2 separate regions of the Homo sapiens genome follow, and region 2 is linked to region 1. Evidence: promoter capture Hi-C in human tissues and cell types (Jung and others, 2019). All regions are on one chromosome and are shown on one strand. The core of a region is centred on a gene start or on the middle of the fragment in contact, and the rest is flanking DNA. Distances in the headings are between cores, read along the strand shown.

Region 1 (5,406 bases), core at 465-2,964:
GGGGGAGAGCCCCATAAACTTGGTATATGACACACCAGCCACGTGCCACACAGGCACCGCACTAATCACTTAAACCCATTATCTTATTCAAACGCTTAAAACCCCTGAAGTCAGAATGACAACACCTGTTTTGCAAATGGGACAGGAAGTGACTTACCCAAGACCACACAGCTACAAAGCACCAGAACTGCAAAGCATTTCTCTTTCTACTTTCTAGCTGCTTAGTAGGTTTCCAATGTCCAACCCTACAAATAAAAGTTTCCACATTCTGCTTTTTCTCTTTCTTCTCCCAGGGGCCCGGTGGAGAGGCTGCAAGGTGCCCCTCGACCCTCTAAGACAGCTCAGCCAGTCCCTGCTGCAAAGGGCACACGCTGGCTCCTCTCTGTGCAGAGGACACCTTCACCCCTCACTCCGCCGCTTTGAGGATGGAGCACCTAACTTGGGAGAGGAGGTTTCAGCCTGCGTGGACCCCAAGAACCATCCGAGGGGTGGTTGGGCTGAGAACTGGCAGAGGGGGTCTTCCGGTGATGGGGTCTGGGGTTGCAAAGAAGGTGCCTCCAGGATCGGATCCCTGTGCCCAGCCGCTTGAAGCGCCTTTAGCTTCTTATCAAATATTAACATGCCTTTCCTGCCACCTCCCACCTAGAGGAATAATTAAGAGCTCGGCTTCACCATTAATCTTTAAACGAAAATCACCCTGTCCGGAAAGACCGGCTCCGCAGAGGCCTTGGGGCTCCGGGTCCCCCACCCCCCGCCCCCGCCAGGCTCCCAATTCAGCGCTGGAGGTTAGGGAGGCCAGGGGAGCTTGCGACCCTCAGGGGCAAGGAACCCGTGTGGGAAGCGCGGCTTCCAGGACCCTGCCAGACCGCCCTTGCTCTGGCCGCGGGGCAGTCACCCAGCGCTGAGTCCCAGCGGGACGGACGGAAACCCACGGGCAGACGGAGGAGGCTGGGTGAGAAAAGAAGGCGTGCGTTGAGGCGGGTCCGAGAAGCATCCTTTTTTTTTTTTTTTTTTTTTTTTTTTTTTTTTTTTAAACGGAGCACCAGGCTGGAGTGCAGTGGCGTGATCTCACTGCAACCTCCACCTCCTGGGTTCAAGCGATTCTCGGGCCTCAGCCTCCCGAGTAGCTGGGATTACAGGCGTGTGCCACCACGTCCGGCTAATGTTTGTATTTTTGGTAGAGATGGGATTTCACCATGTTGGCCATGCTGGTCTCGAACTCCTGGGCTCAGGTGATCCACCCGCCTCTGCCTCCCAACGTGCTGGCATTTCAGGCTGGAGCACCCGCGCCCGGCCTGAGACGCATCCTTATCAGGGACTCCCAACTCGTCTCGCCGGGCCACGCGCACACACCCTCACCGCGCACACCCGTGCACACGCTCCCCCAGCCGGTGCTGACACGCGTGTGCACACACAAGCTCGCGCGCTGCCCAGTCCTCCCGCACCCTCGCGGCCCCCGGCGCACACGCAACCCGGGACCCCAGCGCCACCGACGCTCACCGGTCGCCCGCGGGGGGATCCTCTGCAGGGGCGGGAGCTGGGGGCACGGAGGGGACCGCCGAGGGGCACCTGGGGCCGGAGCCCGGGAGCTCACCTGCACTGGCCGATGGCCGCGCCGCGGAGAGGGCCAGGAGCGCCAGCAGCATCCGCATCTTGCGGGACAGCAAAGAGTCCTCTGAGCCGGGGGTCGCGCACCGAGGAGGCCGCCGCGGGTGCAGCGATCCTGCCGGCCTGGGTTTTATAGCGGAGCCGCGACGGGAGGGAGCCCCGACAGCTGGACGCGGGAGGCGGCTCCTCCCCCTGGCGGGGCCTGCCCTCCCCTCTCCACCTTCCCCTGTCCCTCATCTGAAATCCTCCGCTCTCCCCGGTCCCCCGCCCTGCCTGGCCACCTCTTGCCCTGTGCGCAAGGCCCCCTCACCCACTCCGCGTCCTCTCCACTCAGCAGCGGCGCCCTGCCCCTCCCCCATCCTACTCCTGGTCCCTGGTTTGGGAACAGGGACACGACACCACAAAGTGCTTGACCCACACAAAGATGAGTGCCCCATGATGACTTTGATCATTCTGGCGCCACCCCTGCGCAGTGGTCTTGAATGGGACCTTGGAATGGCCTTGGGGTGGGGGTGGGGGTGGGGGTGGAGATGGCCTCGAAGAGATGAGAGGCTGAGGGGCGTGTGATGCCGTTTGTTGAATCAGTGGCCGCAGAAAGGCTCTCCTATCTCTCTTTGGCAGTGGCCATTGATTCTCTGGGTCTCATCTCTTCTATTTCCTCCCAGGCTGCTCCAAACTTAATTTCTAAGCAGACCAAAGACCTTTCTTCGAATACAGAGCAAAGCTGTCCCTAAACTACTGCCCTTGCTGGTGTTTATGTGATGACCAGGGAGGGTTGATGGGGCAGAATTAAGAAATGGATTGTAAGAGGATTCGGTGAGGGAGAAGCTGATGGGGTCAAAGGGGAGGAGCTAGGTTCTTTGAGCCCCCCAGGTGGAGAGATGAGATGGGAAGAGAAGAGACTGGGGTCTGAATGGACCCCTGGTTCTCCCATCTGGCAAGACCTCCAGAGGAGTCCAGGGGAAGTTCCCTTAAGGGCGGCTCCAACATTTGGGGAAATGGGGTCCCCCCCATGCCCCCAAGCTGCCTCTTGTCTCCTCTCTTAGCTGTGCCCTCCTGCTACTGCAGGTCCTCTGTGTCCCACATGGGGTGGGGGCTTCTGTGGGAGTTTGGGAAGCTCAGGCTGGGGTGCGGGAGAGGGACGGGGAACCAGGCAGTGGACCTGGACCTCCTCCATCAATCCATCAACAGGAAGCCCCCTTTTTCTGGTTTAGCCACTCCCCATCCGCTGCCAACCTCTCAGTCCCTACCGACCTTCGAACCTGGGCTAGGGACTTCTGAAGGGGGATTGCCTCCCCCAGAAGGATTCAGGCAAAGATGCTTCCTCCTTGCTTAGGGTTGAGGCTGACTCCCCGCTCCTGGCCCAGGATCACACAGCCTCACAGAGCAGCTTTGATCCTACAGAGAGGCAGGAGGGAGGTGAGGGGGTGTCCATGCCAGGCTTAGGGCTCTATTGTCAACACCACTGTATAATGTAATCACCAGCCTGCGACCATGACAGCCACAGGAGGGATTCCACACCCAGAGCCTATTCTGGGGAGTGCATTTGTGTTCACAGGGCTATAAAAATGTCCCTTTCAGGACTGAGGAAGCCTGTTCCTGGGAATAAAAACCACCCCCAGGGAGTCCCTGTGACCTCTGGCCAGCCCCCTGATGAGCAGGGGAGAGGCTTGGGAAACTTTGGTGGGGTTAAGGGACTGTTGATCAATGATCCACTTTAAAGTTCATTGCATTCAGGCCCCCCAGGAGAGAGGGGGGCCCTGGGTGCATTTTGGGACCATAAAGATGGGTGAGGAGAACGAGTCCCTGGTAGGGCATCCCCTCTGAGGAATGCGGGAGGGGTAAAGCTATACACTCTCTTATGGGTGCATCTTAATTATGGGCACCACAGAGCCTGCACATTGGCGATGGGGTGGTGGACTGGTTCCTGCTCCATCTGCCATCTCTAACTTCAAGGTTACACAGGGTGAGTGGCCCTCTCTTCCTGTTCCTGGTCTTAACATTCTCAGCCTTATCTCCAGCCCTGACCCCAGTCCTGGCCTGCCATAAACCAGTCACCTGTCACTATTTAGACTACCTGGGGCCCTGCTTACCTGTAGGGGACAAGGCCTGATTTAGGGTCGTTAGAGCTGGAATGAGTGCTGACATGTCCCAGCGACTTACAGGGCCCATAAAGCTGCCAGCCCAGGCCACCTGAGTGGGAGAGCCCAGCCCAGCAGCCCCAGCCTCCTTCCTCTTACTCTGCAGAGGCCCCCAGTGTTCTGAGTTCAAGTCTTTGCTCTTCTTCTGACTCACGGATGACCTTGGGCAACTTTCCTGCACCCGGCTGATTGCAACTTCCTCATCTATAAACTGGAGATGGTAATCCCTGCCCGGCTGACCTCCACCAATAAACAGTTATTTGGAGTCTGCTGTGAACCAGGGCCTGCCCAGCCCAGACTCTCACAACCGGCCTCTCAGTGCCTGGGTGTAGCCACTGGCCCATGGCGGATGCAAAGATTAATCACACTCTTGTCCTCTGGGGATGTTTGCACGCATGGCCCTGTCAGGAACAGAAGGGAGGCCATGGGAAAGCTAAGGGGCTTTGAGACACATAACCCTGGAGTCACTTCTGGCTCCATCCACTTGCTCTGTGATGGCAGCTGAGCCTCAGTTTTCCTCATCTATGAAATGGAAATCATCCCCCAATCTCTCTCAAAGATTGCCCTGAGGCCTCAGTGAGCTAAAGTCTGAGGAGGCTGGGCCCACGGCTTGGCACATTGGCACATGTGGCCATGACCTCTAAGCAGAGTCCCCTTAGCTGGATTAAATCTGACCCTAGGCAGGTGTGGAGGCAGCATTGGGTGGGATGGAACATTGAGTTAGCACTGGAGAGGGGCCCTGGCACATCCAGGCTCTTCCTGGGCTCCCAAGGGCAAGGAGGAGAGCCCTGACTGTAAACCTGGGAACATGAGGTTCAGATGCAGCTCCCGCTGGAACTGTGAGAGCCATGGAGTGGAGGCACAAAGGGAGCTGAGACCCTGCACCCCTGGGTTCACAGCTCAGGGGAAGGTCAAATACATTGCCCTAAACAGAAACCTATCATACCTTATGCTCAGCGTCGCAGGAGGGCAGAGAGAATATCAGGCAGAGGGTCAGAATAGGAGTAGGAGCCACACTGCCCGGGGTCTACATCCCAGACCCGACACTCAGCTTTCACCCCCGTCAGGCTCAGTGTCCTGATCAGGAAAATCACCAGCCTTCGACCATGATTTTAAAAAAAAACCAAAATAACAAAAAACACAGCAGAAATAAAAACAGCAGCTGCCGGGCACAGTGGCTCATGCCTGTAATCTCAACACTTTGGGAGGCCGAGGTGGGCAGATCACTTGAGGTCAGGAGTTCGAGACCAGCCTGGCCAAGATGGAGAAACCCCCGTCTCACTAAAAACACAAAAATTAGCCAGGTGTGGTGGCGGGTGCCTGTAATCCCAGCTACATGGGAAGTGGAGGCAGGAGAATCACTTGAACCCAGGAGGCAGAGGTTGTAGTGAGCTGAGATTGTGTCACTGCACTCCAGCCTGGGCAATAGAGCAAGACTCTATCTCAAAAAGAAAAAAAAAAAAAGAAAAAAAGAAAACCAGCAATACCTTCACAAGAGCGTGGTTAAAATTCCACAAGGTAATGCTGGGTGAAGGGCCTGTCTGGACACTTACTGAGTGCTCAGTAAACCTCAGCTGTAATTCTTAGTTGTTAAGGCCACAGTGGCCTTATGCCCAGAACAGCACAGGAGCCCAGAGGAGCAGCCCCTAACCCAGCC
Region 2 (5,777 bases), core at 2,051-4,550, 51 kb before region 1:
AACCACTCCACTCCAACCTGGGCAATAAGTGAGACCTTGTCTCTAAAAAAATTAGAAAAAAACAAAAACCAACACACACAAAATTTATGTTTCCTGTGTGTTTGTGTAGGTATGTATATCTTCACTGCCACGTAAATGCGGATGGCTTCGGAAAAGTTTTTTGTTTTGGGGTTGGTTTTTTTGTTTTGTTTTGTTTTTTTTCTTAGAGGATACAAGAATGTTCTTGAGGAAAATCAAGTTGTGCGTAATTCCTCTCTTGACAGTCTAATATATAACTATTGCATTAAAGGTTGACTCTTTGGTAAAAAAGAAAAAGGAAGGTTTGAAAACTGGTCAGTGGATAATTGTTAAAGAGGTAGTCTTCGGGTATAGTGGCAACTTGGTAGAGTAGAAAGGGCACTGAACTAGGAATTTAGCAACCTATGTTTTAGTTCTAATTCTGCCACTAGATAGCTGATTGAGCTCTTTGGACTTTAGTGTCTTAATTTTATAAAGTAAAGGAAAGGCCGGGCACAGTGGCTCATGCCTGTAATCCCAGCACTTTGGGAGGCCGAAGCGGGTGGATCGTGAGGTCAGGAGTTCGAGACCAGCCTGGCCAAGATGGTGAAACCCCGTCTCTATTAAAAATACAACAATCAGCCAGGCATGGTGGCACACGCCGGTAGTCCTAGCTACTCAGGAGGCTGAGGCAGGAGAATCGCTTGAACCTGGGAGGCGGAGGTTGCAGTGAGCCGAGATCGTGCCATTGCACTCCAGCCTGGGCGACAAGAGCAAAACTCCGTCTTAAATAAATAAATAAATAAAATAAAGGAAAGCAAGGCTTCTAGATCAAGTAAATTGATTGTATAGCAGCAACAAGAGAAAACGAAATTGTAAAAAAGGTACTGTATTGGTTTCTTAGGACTGTTATAACAAATTACCACAAATTTGGTGGCTTTAAACAACAGAAATATATTCTTTTTTTTTTTTTTTTTTTTTTTTTGACAGTCTCGCTCTGTCGCCCAGGCTGGAGTGCAGTGGCGTGATCTCCACTCACTGCAGCCTCCGCCTCCTGGGTTCAAGCAATTCTCCTGCCTCAGCCTCCCAAGTAGCTGATACTACAGGTGCACGCCACCATGCCTGGCTAATTTTTGTATTTTTAGTAGAGATGGGGTTTCACCATGTTGGCCAGGATGGTCTTGATCTGACCTCGTGATCTGCCTGCCTCGGCCTCCCAAAGTGCTGGGTTTACAGGTATGAGCCACTGCACCCGGCCCAGAAATTTATTCTTTCACCTTCTGGAGGCCAGAAGTCTGAAACTAAGGTTTCTGTAGGGTGGGGGCTTCCTCCAAAGGTTCTAGGAGAGAATGCTTTCTTGTCTCTTCTAACCTCTGGTGGCTCCAGGCATTCTTTGGCTTGTGACTGCATAACTGCAATCCCTGCCTCTTCATATAGCCTTCTCCTTCTCTCTGTCTTTCTCTGATAAGGATACTTATTGAATTTAGGGCCCACCCAGACAATCCAGGATGATCTCATCTTGACATCCTCAACTTAATTACATCTACAAACATCCTTTTACCAAATTAGGTCACATTTACTGGTTCCAGGGGTTAGAACATGGATATATGGATATACTGTTTTAGAGGCCACCATTCAACTCAACTACAGATATTATTTATCTTAGTATCAAAAAAATTAAATGCTGAGAAAAAATTAAGTACCTAGGAATAAACTTTAAAAATGACACATAAGACATCTATATAGAAAATAAAATATTGATAGAAATTAAAGAAGACTGAAATATTGGAAGGAGTAAACCATGTTCATGGATTAGAAGACTCAATATTTTAAGATATCAGTTCTCTACAAACTAATCTACGGATGACTTAATGCACAATCCCAATACAAATGCAAAGTCTGCGTGTGTGTGTGTGTGTGTGTGTGTGTGTGTGTGTGATTTGATAAGCTGATTCTCATATGTGGAAATACAAAGCACCAGGAATAACCAAGATACTCTTGAAGAAGAGTAAGATATGAGGATATCATCAAGATTGGATATCATCCAGATATCAAGATTTATTTCACAAAGATATGATATTTAAAATAATGTCATATTGGTACAAGAAAAGACAAGTAGACCATTGGGATAGAATAGAGAGCCCAGAAACCAGTTCACAAATGTATGAACACCTGATTTATAACAAAGATAACATTGCAGAGTGGTGAGAGAAAGATAGTTTTCTCAGCAAGTGGTGCTGGGACAATTAGATATCCATATGAAACTTGGCACCTACCTTTCACCACAATTCCAGGTGTTCTATAGAGCTAAATTTGAAAGCAAAACAATGAAACAGCCCTTGGAAGATAATACTGGTAAATACATTCCTGACGCTACTCATATAAAAGAAAAGATTAAATTGGACTTCATTAAAATTGATAACTTGGCTGGGTGCGGTGGCTCACGCCTATAATCCCAGCACTTTGAGAGGCCGAGACGGATGGATCACAAGGTCAGGAGTTCAAGACCAGCCTGGCCAATATGGTGAAACTCCATCTCTACTAAAAATACAAAAATTAACTGGGCGTGATGGTGGGCACATGTAGTCCCAGCTACTCGGGAGGCTGAGGCAGGAGAATCACTTGAACCCCAGAGGCAGAGGTTGCAATGGGCCGAGATCATGCCATTGCATTCCAGCCTGGGCAACAGAGCGAGACTCCGTCTCAAAAAAAAAAAAAAAATGATCAACGACACTAGTAATCAGTGAAATGTAAATTAAAACAATATTATGATATCAGTGCACTCACCTGAACAGGTAAAATTAAACAGACTGACAGGGTTGCTAAGTAGAGCAACAGGAACTCTCATACCATGCTGATGAGAATATAAATTAACTTTATATTTAATTATAAATAATTTTAATTATAAATTAAATACTATAAACAACTACTTTGGAATACAATTTTCTAGTTAAAGATAAGCAGTTCTACCTGTAGGTATCCACCCAAGAGATATGTGTACCAGGAGATATGTACAAGAATATTCGTAGCACCATTATCTATAGTAGCCCCAAAATGAAAACATTGCATGTCCATTAGTTGTAGAAGGGATTGGGAAGCTGAGATATATTAAGATAATGGAACATTATACAGGAATGAAAATGAATGGATTTGTAGTTATATAGAGTATAAATGAATCTCGTAAACCTAATGTTGATGGAAAGAAGCCAAACACAAAAGAATTAGGCTAGGCACGGTGGCTCACACCTGTAATCTCAGCATTTTGGGAGGCTGAGGTGGGCCGATTGCTTGAGCCCAGGAGTTTAAGACCAGCCTGGGCAACATGGTGAAACCCCATCTCTACAGAAAATACAGAAATTAGCCAGCGTGTGCCACACACCTGTAGTCCCAGCTACTTGGGAGGCTGAGGCAAGAGAATCTCTCAAGCCCAGAAGGTGGAGGTTGCAGTGAGCTGAGATCACACCACTACGCTCCAGCCTGGATGACAGAGCTAGACCCTGTTTCAAAAAACAAAAAACAAACAAACAAAAATGAATTAAGTAATTCTATTTATAAATATAAAAACTTTTAAAACAGGGAAAATGAAATCTAGTGTTTATTTACTTGTGCATAGGATATAAAACTGTAAAGAAAAGCAAGAAAGTGATTACTGTAACATTTAGAATAATAGTTACCTTTGTGAGGAAGGGAGAATTTGTGATTTGGAGGAAGCAAATGGGAGGCTTTTGAGTGTTCGCTATATTCTGTTTCTTAAACTCAGTGATAATGGAAAGCTAGTTGCTTTGTGATAATTATTTGAAATGTACTTTTTTTTTTTTTTTGCAATGGAGTTTCACTCTTGTTGCCCAGGCTGGAGTGCAGTGGCAGGCCCTCAACTCACTGCAACCTCCGCCTCCTGTGTTCAAGTGATTCTCCTGCCTCAGCCTCCTGAGTAGCTGGGATTACAGGCATGCGGCACCACGCCTGGCTAATTTTGTATTTTTAGTAGAGACAGAGTTTCTCTATGTTGGTCAGGCTGTCTCGAACTCCCGACCTCAGGTGATCCACCCACCTTGGCCTCCCAAAGTGCTGGAATTACAGGTGTGAGCCACCACATCCAGCCAGAAATGTACCCTTTTACCTCTGATTTTTATTTTTCTCTGCATTAGTAGCCCTTGGCTTAAAATTTCTTTCTTTTTTTTTTGGTTGAGACAGAGTCTTGCTGTTGTCGGCCAGGCTGGAGTGCAATGGCACGATCTCGGCTCACTGTACTCTATGCCTCCTGCGTTCAAGTGATTCTCCTGCCTCAGCCTCCCGAGTAGCTGGGACTACAGGTGCCTGCCACCATGCCCAGATAATTTTTGTGTTTTTAGTAGAGACAGGGTTTCACCATATTGGCCAGGCTGGTCTCGAACTCCTGACCTCATGATCCGCCCGCCTCGGCCTCCTGAAGTGCTGGGATTACAGGCATGAGCCACTGCACCTGGCCCTGGCTTGAAGTTTCTAACCATGTTAATAACTAGGAGTAGAATTTATCTCAGTAGTAACTGAGAAAGTATGGGCCCTAGGGCACTAGGAGAAGTTCCTTAATGAGAGGATGAAAATTGTGTGGGTTTAGCTACGTTTTAAAATTTTATAAAATATTTGTACTGAACTCTGTCTGGATTTCTCTGGATCTTATAATAATAGTAACATATGAAATAGAGGCTTAAAATTATGTATTTAAGCTTAAATGAAAATGGCAAAATAAAATGCTTAATAATCTGAATAAAGGGTCTTTTTACTTAGAAACTAGCTAACTTAACCCCTAGTGAGTTGATAAGTTGTTGATTTAGCTTTTCTAACTACTCAATAAATACCAAACTTCTTAGGGAATTAAATGTTCAAAGGTTCAGCAGCTTTAGATAACCTTGAACTCCCACCAACCATTCCATTATACTAAATGTTTATTTAACAGCCATTTCCAGGATAATTCTGTGCAGTATCTCTATATTAAGGAATATCGTAAATATCTCTTTAACGTACTCAAAGCAAATTTTAAAAATTTTACCTTACTTTTATCCTATCCTGTATTTAAAAAACAAAAAAAAAGATTAAAATCACTTAACTGCTTTTAGGAAGGTGGATAAGCTTGTTATAAAATAGAATTACTAGGTTTCACAAATCTCCAAAACTTTGGAAATTGCCACTCCAACAACCACTATCAACAGCTTATCCCTAGAAAACTATAGTTGAGAGAGTCTTTTTTTTTTTTTTCCACTGGCATCTTTTCATTTCTTTTTTTTTTTGAGACAGGTCTCACTCTACCTTCCAGGCTGGAGTGCAGTGGCACGATCACAGCTCACTGTACCCTCAACTTGCCAGACTCAGGCAATCCTCCCACCTCAGCCTCCTGTATAGCTGGGACTACAGACACATGCCACCATGCCCAGCTAATTGTATTTATTTCTTTATAGAGATAGGGTCTCCCTACATTGCCCATTCTGATCTCAAACTCCTGGGCTCAAGGGATCCTCTTGCCTCAGCCTTCCAAAGTGCTGGGATTACAGGCGTGAGCCACCACACCCAGCTTACTGGCATATTTTCTGGAGAAAGAAAGAGCCTTAATTGTTTAAAAGCCCTTAGCTATGAAGCTATTACTAGTTTTTACATGTGAGTCAGTGTATGTGAGAAATGTTTATCAGAGAAAACTGGTTTGAATATATTAATTGCTGAAACCCAAATTTGATAGAATAGGCAACAACTCTAAAACTGGCAATACCTCAGCCCCTTTAATGACTCCACTGTAACCGTTCTCTTTG

What was found. The method cuts DNA at HindIII sites, captures the fragments that hold promoters and counts their contacts. A contact is called where the count stands out against the background at its distance.
Region 2: a contact is called between a fragment that was not itself captured here and the fragment with the promoter of CA4 in region 1, in 2 of the 25 tissues and cell types used here (H1 embryonic stem cells and aorta).

Annotation. Positions count from the first base shown.
Region 1 is chr17:60,146,281-60,151,686 of GRCh38, reverse strand. CA4 (carbonic anhydrase 4) reads right to left here and starts at 1,714. Exons shown (of 8, transcript NM_000717.5): 1 at 1,595-1,714. The coding sequence starts at 1,652. The HindIII fragment of the contact is 35,208 bases long and covers 1-5,406 here.
Region 2 is chr17:60,198,602-60,204,378 of GRCh38, reverse strand. The region is part of intron 26 of USP32 (ubiquitin specific peptidase 32); the gene reads left to right. Among named protein-coding and RNA genes, the nearest start is that of CA4, 52 kb to the right of the region's middle. The HindIII fragment of the contact is 3,210 bases long and covers 1,696-4,905 here.